Regions from separate parts of the Homo sapiens genome. Here region 2 is linked to region 1. Evidence: promoter capture Hi-C in 16 types of primary human blood cells and fetal thymus (Javierre and others, 2016). All regions are on one chromosome and are shown on one strand. The core of a region is centred on a gene start or on the middle of the fragment in contact, and the rest is flanking DNA. Distances in the headings are between cores, read along the strand shown.

Evidence for each region. Contacts are between HindIII fragments. The CHiCAGO score rates a contact against its expected background, and 5 or more counts as called.
Region 2: a contact is called between a fragment that was not itself captured here and the fragment with the promoter of C15orf40 in region 1, in 3 of 17 cell types (megakaryocytes, endothelial precursors and erythroblasts). The highest score is 9.5, in megakaryocytes.

What each region holds. Positions count from the first base shown.
Region 1 is chr15:83,008,333-83,013,878 of GRCh38, forward strand. It overlaps C15orf40 (chromosome 15 open reading frame 40), which reads right to left and starts at 3,307. Exons shown (of 4, transcript NM_144597.3): 1 at 3,165-3,307; 2 at 1,905-2,031; 3 at 216-343. The coding sequence starts at 3,275. It overlaps LOC124903542 (a long non-coding RNA gene), which reads left to right and starts at 3,409. Exons shown (of 2, transcript XR_007064742.1): 1 at 3,409-4,727. RefSeq lists an enhancer at 3,485-3,544. The HindIII fragment of the contact is 2,628 bases long and covers 2,172-4,799 here.
Region 2 is chr15:83,158,224-83,163,404 of GRCh38, forward strand. The region is part of intron 2 of HDGFL3 (HDGF like 3); the gene reads right to left. Among named protein-coding and RNA genes, the nearest start is that of HDGFL3, 47 kb to the right of the region's middle. RefSeq lists an enhancer at 1-1,006. The HindIII fragment of the contact is 1,695 bases long and covers 2,631-4,325 here.

The DNA.
Region 1 (5,546 bases), core at 2,057-4,556:
ACATGGTGAAACTCCGTCTCTATTAAAAATACAAAAATTAGCCAGGCATGGTGGCATGCGCCTATAATCCCAGCTACTCAGGAAGCTGAGGCAGGAGAATAGCTTGAACCCAGGAGGTGGAGGTTGCAGTGAGCCAAGACTACGCCACTGCACTCCAGCTTGGGCGACAGAGCAAGATTTTGTCTCAAAAAAAAAAAAAAGAGAGCGAGACCTACCTTATCCAAAACCACATCACTCTTCCTGAGTTCTAGGACCTTGGAAAGATACCGACAGAGCTCAGCATTAGCCTCTCCCTCTGATGGAGGTGCTGCAATAGCTACATTTACAGCCTCTGCTGTCAAATCTGGAATGAAAATAGTGTGGACTTTATCCTTAAGGAGTTCTTTTTCTTCATGAAGCAAGGACATTTTGTAAAAGAGTTTTTGCATTTGCCTGGCACACAGATTTTCAATTAAAAACTGTTGAATGAAGAAATGAATGATTAAACTAATCACATTTAAGGAACATGAACATGATAAAAATGGCCCTACCATTACAGGAAATAAATCCAGAGAAGAAAAGTTATTGACCCAATCTTGCCGACCAAGATGGGCTTACAGAGCCCTGGGGAATATCCTGGATTTAGGCAACTGGAAATTGCCCTTGGTATGTGAAGAGCCCCAGGCAGGGAGTCATAGATGGCCTTCAGCCTCATCAATGTCACTGAAGAAGTGTATGGACAGGGCAGCTTACTAGATTGTACAAGGTTGTGCAGGGTTTCCTCAACAGGAAAATGAGAGCCCCGGACTAGGTTCACCTCTTATGTGACACATATCTTGAGTGTTTTTAAAATTTAATAATGTTTACTTAACAAATATTTACAGAGCACTTACTATACACCAATTTTAAGCACACACAAATGTGTTAAAGGCTTTACAAATACTAACTTCTTTAATCCTTATAATAACTTTATGAAGATATTAGTACCATTATTATCTCCATTTTACAAATGAGCCATGGCATCCAGCCTCCCATTTTAGATCTAATGAAACATAATACTCCAACGTAGACAGTGTCCACACCCACTACTTAGAAAATGCTGGCCAAGGAGGGTATGGCTAAGTTAACTTGGTCATCAGCATAAACCAGGTCTAGCACGTCAATGTTGTGGTTTTCCTTTCAAAATCTAAAAATGGTTTGAAATACAGAGCTTTAGAGGTGAAAAAGACCTTCAAAAGAATTTAGAGCAATGGTTTTTGAACTTTTTTTCCTTTAGAATCCCTTCCCCCAATTTTCTCCAGAATCCCAATATGTAAAACAAATGTAAACAGAGCTAGTCAGGAGCCCTGTCTGCCTGGCCTCCTCCTTGCCCAAAGCTGATTCCTGAGGCACCTCCAGCACTCCAGAGAATAGCCTGAAAGCCTCTAACTTAGTCCAACGATCTCATCTGACAGATGAAAAAACTGGACCCATGAATGTTTTATACTGTTTTGATTTAAAACAAATTCGCACAGGAACTGATCACGGGTCTCAGATCTCAAGTTTTCTCCCTCTCCTTAGGCCAGTGATCATTAAACTACACTAAAATGTCTCTTCTTTCTCTGGCCAATGTCTCCAGTTTTGGAACAGGACAAACTAAGAATAATCCAGACTACACACAAGTTTCCATAACTGTCCTTTCTAAAATACTGTATTTTTAAAGAGGAAAATATACAATGGTTTTCGTGTAACTTGGCATGATTTAAAGATATATTCACTTTAAGACACCTTTACATTAGAATCTAGAATTTTAAAATGGAGAAGCCTCTAACTGCAGATGTGAAAAATCAACTGTCATAGAATAAGCTTTCAGCTAACCAAAGCAAAGGAGGGCTGTAGGAGACACCTGATTCACACTTGAATCCCACCCCAGTGTCCAGGTATACCTGTTACAGCATTTTGTTTGGAGCCAGGTTTTGCATGGATGGCTATGGTGACGCATCCTTTAGGATCAACTGCCACAGGACCTAAGGGAGGAAGTGGTCTCTCTGGTTCCTTGCTCTGGCTTTTACCCTAAAATGACAACCACACAACTTTACAGGTTACAAAATATTTTCCCACACATTTAATTTGATTCTTCCACTACCCCCTTTCACCCTTAACAGACAAACTAGGCTCATCAGTGGTGTCCAGGGACTTCTGGCCACCTAGAAAGCTTTTCCCACAACCTTCAAGGCTCTACTCAATTTTCCCACGAAGGGTTCCCATCAACCCAACAGTGTTTTTTCCCCCCTTGCAAGAAAACCTAACTCTGGCTTCTAAACCTTAATGCTTGCTCCTCCCTCTGCTTTGTATTTCCAATTCCTTGGGGGCAGGGATCATTTATTATTCATCATTGTATCTCATGCAGTCGGAGCTAATAAATGTTGGTGAAAGTGTGTATGTCTGCATGTTGCGGGAAAGGGAGGAAAAAAAAATAGTGCTTGATATTTAAAGGCCTGTTATGGGACAGGGGCTGTGCTAGGAACTTTCGTTCAACAAATATGTAGGCAATGGATATGTAAAGATGAAAAGGTACATGGTCCTTGCTCTCAAGGAGCTCGGACTGCTGCGAGGGAGAAAGAACATACAAAATTATAATACACTGTGCTAAGTGCACCGATGAGATAGGCACAGAACATTACCCCACAGGCAAATCAGCATTGGGGCACTGGAGAATGCTGCCAGCAGGAGGCAGTGCTTGAGCTGAGTCTGAGAAACGGACTGGGGTTGGCCAAACAAAGATGGTGGAAATGGGAGTGCTGTATTCTTGACAGAAGGGGTGCGATCAGCCAAAGCAAGGGAGGAGAAAGCAGAATACAGCCTCCTGGGGAAACGCAGGTCATGCCGCTGCGGGAACATGAATTGCTGGACTGGGAGTGCGGGTAGGAGGCCAAAGGTCAGCACACGCAGCCCAAGGAGAGCTCGGCTGCCGCCGGGCCCAGCGCTCAGAAATCACCAGGTGGACGGCAGCGCAGCCTACTGAGGCGGGGCGACGGCAGCAGGCCGCAGCTCTGGGGGTGGCGGCGGCTGTCCTGAGCCCCGGAACTGAGAGACGGCAAGCCGCTGGCAGTGCCTCCACTCACTCCCGGGCCCCGCTTCTCCCGCGCTCTTCAACAAGTACCCCTGAGGCCCACCCCTCTGCCGCCACGGGACCTGCTACTGGCCTTGGTCGTCGCACCAGCCTTCTTAGGCATCTCGGCGCAAAGAAGCCGAGCGGAGCCCCGAGTATTGGGTGTTGCCCGAAGGTGCCTCAGCCCGCTGCGGAGCCGCAGCATCCCCGCCTGGGAAGGCGCCGGAAGAGCCCTCTGCGCTTGCGCAGGTAGCCGGCAGGAGCGGCCCCACCGCCCGGCGCATCCGCTCTGGCCAGAGGGCGACACCTTAAGGCCGGCGGGAGCGAGTCTCGTGGCCGCAGAACATGCGCGAGTCTCTTTTGTTCTGGAACGGGCCGAGCCCCAGGAAGTGGAGCTGCGGAGCTGAGGCCTCACCGTGTCTTGGCCCACCCTGCTCAGCTGATAGGAAGGTGTGTCACCTCTTTCCTAATCGGGGAAAGAAAGGTATTGTCACTTCTCAGAATTGGAGAGCGCGGCAAGGAGTGCACAGGGCCAGGTGTCTTCTCGCTCCCACAGCCAAGCAGCAGATGCAGAGTCCCACGCGCTGCCTGTGGCCATCAAGTCGATATAGAGCCTCGTGGCGGCTTGGCCCTTGTGAATCTTCCACGTATCGATGGCGCACCTACCTTGTGCCAGGCGCAGCGGATCCCACAATGTAAAAGAAGAGGAAATACACTGCGACATGTGATATGGAGAGACATGAAACAAATCAGCAGAGGCAAGATCATGGAGTCACTGAAGGCTTTCAAGCAAGGGATTATTAGCAGCCCAATTTGCTGGGTTTTAGAAAGACACCGGCTGCACTGTGGCCGACAGAGGAAAAGCCAGAGACAGGGAGATCCGCCCCCTAAATGGGAGAGGGTGGCCTGAACTAGAGTAACCGCAGGGAGGGTGGAGCGCTGATCATTTCAAGGATCTTCAGGAACTGAAATGATCAGAACTTGGGAATGACTGCATGTGCGAATAAGGGGGAAAAGTCAAGGAAATGCCCAGGTTTGGGGCCCAAGGAACAGGTTTGGGAGGCCGAGGTGAGGAGTTCAGCTTTGGACATAATGAGTTTGAGATGCCCACAGGACATCCAAATACAAATGTTAAAGGGGTAACTGAATATATGTGACTGGAGTTTGCGAAATCAAGGCTGGTGATAGAGATTCTGGAATCTTCTGAAAGCAGATGGCAATTGAAGCTATGGAAATGGATGAGAGAGTGTGTAAAGAGCACGAGGGCCCAGGTTAGAACAGCAAGGGCAGGTAGAGAAGTCACCAAAGGACACTGACCAGGTAGGAGTACGGTGTAACGGCAGCTAAAGAAGGGCGCTTCAAGAGGGAACATCAACAGTGATGAACACTCTGGAGAGAACATGTCACATGTAACGACTGAGAAGTGGCCACAAGATTTAGAAATCAGGGTGGTGGTGGTGACCCGGGCTACAGCAGTTTTAGTGGAGAGAAGGAAATGGAGATAATTGTAGAGAATAATCCAGTGACTTCACTGTGAAGGAGCAATTGGTATCTGGAGGGGCACATGACATTCAGAGACTTATTTTTATCATATTTGAAGATTGGTAGGAAAGAGCCAGGAGAAGAGAGGTTACAGCAGAGGACGGTTCCTGAAGAGGTAGGATCTGAGCTCAAGTAGAGATTGAGTTCTCTACAGGAGGCCTTAGACACTCCTTCCTTCCTAAGGGAAAGCTTAGGTGGACATGTAGCTGTGTTTGTAGGTTTGGTGATGGGAGGTGGAATTTCTTTCATTAACTAAGGCGGGGGAGGTGTTGAAGGTATATTGGGACTCTTGAGAATGGCAAAGGGCTGACTATTGCAACTCACCCAGCGGTAGACAGTTAAGGGAGACCGTGAAATCATCTATGATCCCAATCTATAGTTACCTTATTTTATTTTTGTTTATTTTTGAGACAGGGGGATGGGAAGAGCCTGTCGCCCAGGCTGGAGTGCAGTGGCGGGATCTCGGCTCACTGCAACCTCCGCCTCCTAGGTTCAAGCAATTCTCCCTGCCTCAGCCTCCAGAGTAGCTGGGACTACAGGCGCGCGCCACCACACCCATTTTTTGTATTTTTAGTAGAGACGGGCGTTTCGCCATTTCGCCCAGGCTGGTCTCGAACTCCTGAGCTCAGGCAATCCACCCACTTCGGCCTCCCAAAGTGCTAGGATTACAGGCGTGAGCTAGCGCCTGGCCTATAGTTACGTTACTTTAGATGCCTGGATTCACCAGCTAAGAAGTTTTTTTTTTAATTAAATTTTTTTTTGGCCCCAGTGCTACTACCAAAGCAGTCAGGAAGTTGAAGATAAGGCAGACAACTGGATTGATTCAGGTATATTTAAGTGGGTTGAGGGTTATTGATGAAATGGTTAAAGTTATTAAAGACCAAAGGTGGAGAGGGGTTGAGGGAGACCAAAAGTAGAGTCTAACTGGGTAAAG
Region 2 (5,181 bases), core at 2,228-4,727, 150 kb after region 1:
TGGATAGCTGAGCATACAAGCCAGCCACCTGGATTGTGCTACTTTGATTTTACTTTTAAATTATCAATATCTTCATTTAAAAACTGATTTTTAGTTACATAAGTAGAATTAAATATGTCTACTTTGGCCACTTAAATCATCATCTTAAACTAAGATTTATCTATGTTAATCTTACCACAGGTAAGGGTTTTGTGAAATTCACAGTAAAAATATAAATGCTAGAATAAAAAAAAGATTTTAACTCTCTATATAGTAATTCCCCACTTAACTGTGGTTTTGCCTTCTGTGGTTTTAGTTACCCATGGTCAACTGTGGTCCAATGGAAAATGAACAATTCATAGGTTTTAAATATTACACCCCTCTGAACAGGTGATAAAATCTCACACCCACTCCATCCTGCCTGGGACATGAATCATCCCTTTGTCCAGCATATCCATCATATTTGCACTACCTTCCCACTAGTTACTTAATAGCTATCTCTGTTATCAGATGGAAAAATCATAGTATATATAGGTTTCATACTATCCACGGTTTTAGGCATCCACTGGAGGTCTTGGAATGTATCCCCTACAGATAAAGGGGGCACTACTGTACCACGTTAGTATATTTATTCACTATTATTTCTTTCTTTTTTTTTCAGATAGAGTTTTGCTCTTGTTGCCCAGGCTGGAGTGCAATGGTATGATCTCGGTTTACTGCAACCTCCATCTCCCGGGTTCAAGGGATTCTCCTGCCTCAGCCTTCCAAGTAGGGGATTACAGGCATGCTCCATCACATCTGACTAATTTTGTATTTTTAGTAGAGACGGGGTTTCGCCACATTGGTCAGGCTGGTCTCGAACTCCTGACTTCAGGTGATCCACCTGCCTCGGCCTCCCAAAGTGTTGGGATTACAGGCATAAGCCACCGTGCCCAGCCTATTATTTCTATAAATTAAAAAATCATTTTAGTGTTTAATGAGGCACTAAGAAAAAAATTAGAAGTGACAAAGCAGATAGACTTTTATCCAATTTAAACCACATCCTAAATTAATCACAACCAAGAAAAAAAAAGAAGTTAGAACAAATTCTGAGCCTGGCTAATAGATCAGAGTCTTTAGCATTAGGCCACAGTTCTGGCTGACACCCCTAGAGCTTACTTCTCAAACTGAGATTCACACATTCCTTCATTCAACAAACATTGATTGAACATTTGTTAATACAATGTGCCAGGCACTATTCCAGAGGAGCTACAGGGAACAAAGAGACAAACATCTCTGTTTTCTTGGAGCACATGTTCTAGTGGCAGGGGTGGGGGTTTGGACAATAAAAAGATAAAATATATAGTATGTGTGCTAAAAAAAATAAAGCAGAGAAGGATGGGAAGAATAGGAGATGGATTTTATAATTATAGATATACAGATCAAGGAAGGCAAAGGGAATAGCTAAGTAAAGAACAAAGAAAGTGAAGGAATAACTCATGCAGTTACCTGGAGAAGAAAAGAACAAGTTGAAGAAAGAGCAAGTACAAGGTCCCTCAGGTGGGAGAGGAAGAGTGCCTCATAAGTTTGAGAAACAGAAGAGGTCAGTGTGGCTAGAGTGAAATGAGTGAAGGACGACTGGTGTGAGACAGGTTAACAGAGTAGGGGCACAGATTATTTAGGGCCTTGAAGGCCACTATAAAGGCTTTGAGTGAGATGGGAAGCCATTAAAGGTTCTGAGAAGAGAAGTGGCAATTTATGTCTTAATAGGATAACTTTGGCTGCTGTACTGAAAACAGACTGAAGACTTAGTTACTACAGTAGAAGCAGGGAGACTAATTAGAAGGCTTCTGAAGTAATGATGGTGACTTGAACCAGGGTGTAAGCAGTACTGTTGGTAAGAAGTGGTCAGATCCTGAATTCATTCTCAAGAAAGAGCATCAAGATTTGTTGATGGGCTGCATATGGCATATGTGAGAAAGGGTAGAGGAGTTGAGGATATCTCTAAGGTTTTTTTTTTTTTTGAGACGGAGTCTCACTTTGTCGCCAGGCTGGAGTGCACTGGCACGATCTCGGCTCACTGCAACTTCCGACTCCCTGGTTCAAGCGATTCTTCTGCCTCAGCCTCCTGAGGACCTGGGATTATAGGCACATGCCACCATACCCAGTTAATTTTTGTATTTTTGATAGAGACGGGGTTTCACCATGTTGGCCAGGATGGTTTTGATCTCCTGACCTTGTGATCCGCCCACCTCAGCCTCCCAAAGTGCTGGGATTACAGCCATGAGCCACCACACCTGGCCATCTCCAAGGTTTTGGACTGAGAAATAAGAAGGAGTTGGTATTTACCGAAATGGAAATATTTTGGGGGGGGAACAATATTTGGGGGCAAAAAACTCAGTTTTGAATGCTACATTTAAAATCCAGTTTAGACATCCAAGTGGAGATGTCAGGTAGCTGGAGAGAGGACTCTGGAGTAGAGGGGAAATGTGTAAGCTGGAGATGTAAATTTGGAAATTATCAGTAAAGAGAAGATACTGAAAGCTTTCAGACGAGAGGTTAACAGTTTACTATTGATCTCTGTAAATTCCATTTTCTGCCTGGGTCTCAGGGTTGATCCCTCGCATTGTGCAGCTGATCAAAAACTTCAAGTTCATTAAAACTCCTGGGTAAGCTTTCTGACCCCAGAGCGGTTTAAGAAGCACCAAACTTTTAAGAAGCACCAACCTTTTCCTTATTGTTCACCTTTAATTGCTCAGTCAGCATGATTCTACCTCATTGAATCCAGAAATAATTTATTACATTACTGGACATCTTAATAAAAAAAAGTCAAAGTCTTGCTTGATAAACTGAACACAATAAATGGACTTTGTGTATGGCAACTTCACTTTTAGAAGAATTTGTCGTGAATTATTAGACTCTAGCTTTTGACCTTCCCCAGTCTTTGACTCTATGCTTAAGAAATAACTGTGGGCTAAGCTGCCTGGTATTCACATCAGCTACTTGATGCTAATCAGGGCTTGCCTATACTTATTTTTTTGGGCAGGGGAGAAAGGGTCTCTCACTGTAGCTTTGGCTTCCAGGCTCAAGTGATCCTCCCACCTCAGCCTCCTGAGTAGCTAGGACTACAGCCACCATGCCTGGCTAATGTTATTTTTTTGTAGAGACGGGATCTCACTATATTGCCCAGGCTAGTCTCGAACTCCTGAGCTAAAGTGATCCTCCAGCCTTGGCCTCCCAAAGTGCTGGTATTACAGGCATGAACCACTGCACTCAGCTGCCTATACTGTAATAATGCCAGAAGAGTCAGGGCTAATGGTCATTATTTTTTGATGAAAGAGTTAACAATTTTTGCCCTCTTTATTTTTATCTTGTCCCACTTTTGGATGTATGAGATGGACGTCTTCCTGCTACAGGAAGCATTCTTTTATGAATAAATGATACATTTTTACTAGCATTCCGCAGGAATGACTTTAACTGACAACTGGCCATGTTAGCTACTGCCGGCAAGAGGGAGCCTGAATGAACTGTTCTAAAACAAGTTGTAATTTTTTGATAAACAACCCTGTTTTTTTCTGGATTATAGATAATTGTGTAAATCAAATCCCCTCTCAATTGGTTAATTGCTATATGTTTTAAAATTTTTTAAGCATAGAAAAGAAAATACATTTTTTCAAAGCTAAATGCACTGAGGATGATATATTTTTCCATGTTAAGGGTTCCTTGAAAATTGTCTAGACTAAAACTACTGGGTTTATGTTAGAAGCAGAAGAACTTGAGGCTCCAGTCACCTACATCAGAATTAGAACAGATTCAAAGTCATGTTCTGAGGAAAATTCTGGTCGTGCCTAGGGTACTCCTTTAGCTGAACCAAACGTAGCCTTCTTGTTAAGCTCACCTCACTTTTCACATACCTCCCCTGCATCATTTAACTAATTTTAATTTAATTGATAGCTATTTTTTAAACACCTACCATGGGCCAGGCACTGTGTTAAGCACTGTGTAAGTAGAGTAAGAAACACTGACATAATTTCTGCCTTCAGAGAGGGTGAACATTCATACTTGCCAGGGCAAGTATAATCTCAGGTTCAGGGACACCCAATACTTAGTAACTAAGTTCAGTAGAATCAATGTTATGACAGGTTTTTTGAAGTTAATTCTCCCCCAGGTATTTTTAAATCTGCCTCTGGATGATCAAACCAGCAAAAAAATCACATATAGACTACTGTACAACCAGATCATTTGGAGATGGGTTCTAAAAAAATCAAACCAATGGTACAAAAATAAAATGGGGGCGGGAATAAGGAAAATGCAAAAATATGCATCATAAAGCCCTATACATTTATTATAGGTAAAACTTATTTCTAAGCTTTCTAGCAACCTCTCTTAAGGAGGAAAACATGATCAGTTGCATAGTCCATAATGTCTATTACATAAAAATAATACAAAAGTAAATAAAACTTCCTGAGAGAAATTACAATTATTTCTCTCACGAAAAAAAGTCTGTCTTGAGAGGCTTCTCCTAACTCTCTTTCAAGACAAGAATGAGGAAGATGTTGGGTGGCAGAGACAACAAGCTAAGAAAGTTCATGCTAGGCTCTACTAACGTTCAAATGAACATAAGTGATGACCCTGAATTTGAAGACTTAAAAATTTTGTGACAGTTTTTAGCTTTTCTCCACATTTCCAATTTGTTCCATTTGTTTTTTGTTGTAAATAACCATATCCGTTCCTAGTGTGTCAAAGATTGCCAACTATTCCACAGTATTCATGCTCTTCTTTTTTCCTATACTGAATATTCCTTCCAATTTTTAAAGCAGGATACAGAGTTGCCCAGCTAGAGACTGTTTCTCAGCTTCCCTTGTAGCTAGATGTGGCCACATCACCAAGTTCTTGTCACTGGAATGAATGCCAGTGTAAATGATGTACAGTAAGTCCACACTTAATGTCGATAGGTTTTTGGAAACTGTGACAACACTGAACAAAAAGAAGTTAGTTGACAGCCTGCTGTCTGATGTTTCCTTTAAAGTCGCAGTTGCCAGGAACCTATCAACTTAAGTGAAGATCTACTGTATGTAACTTCCTGTCATTTCCTTACAAGGAACTACTTGTTCTTCACCTCTTCTCTTTCCTCCTTCCCACTGCCTGCAAGATGCACATGTGCTGCTGAGCCAGTTTTTTTGTTTTAGCGGTTAATGACAGGACAAGAAACAGAAGCAGCTC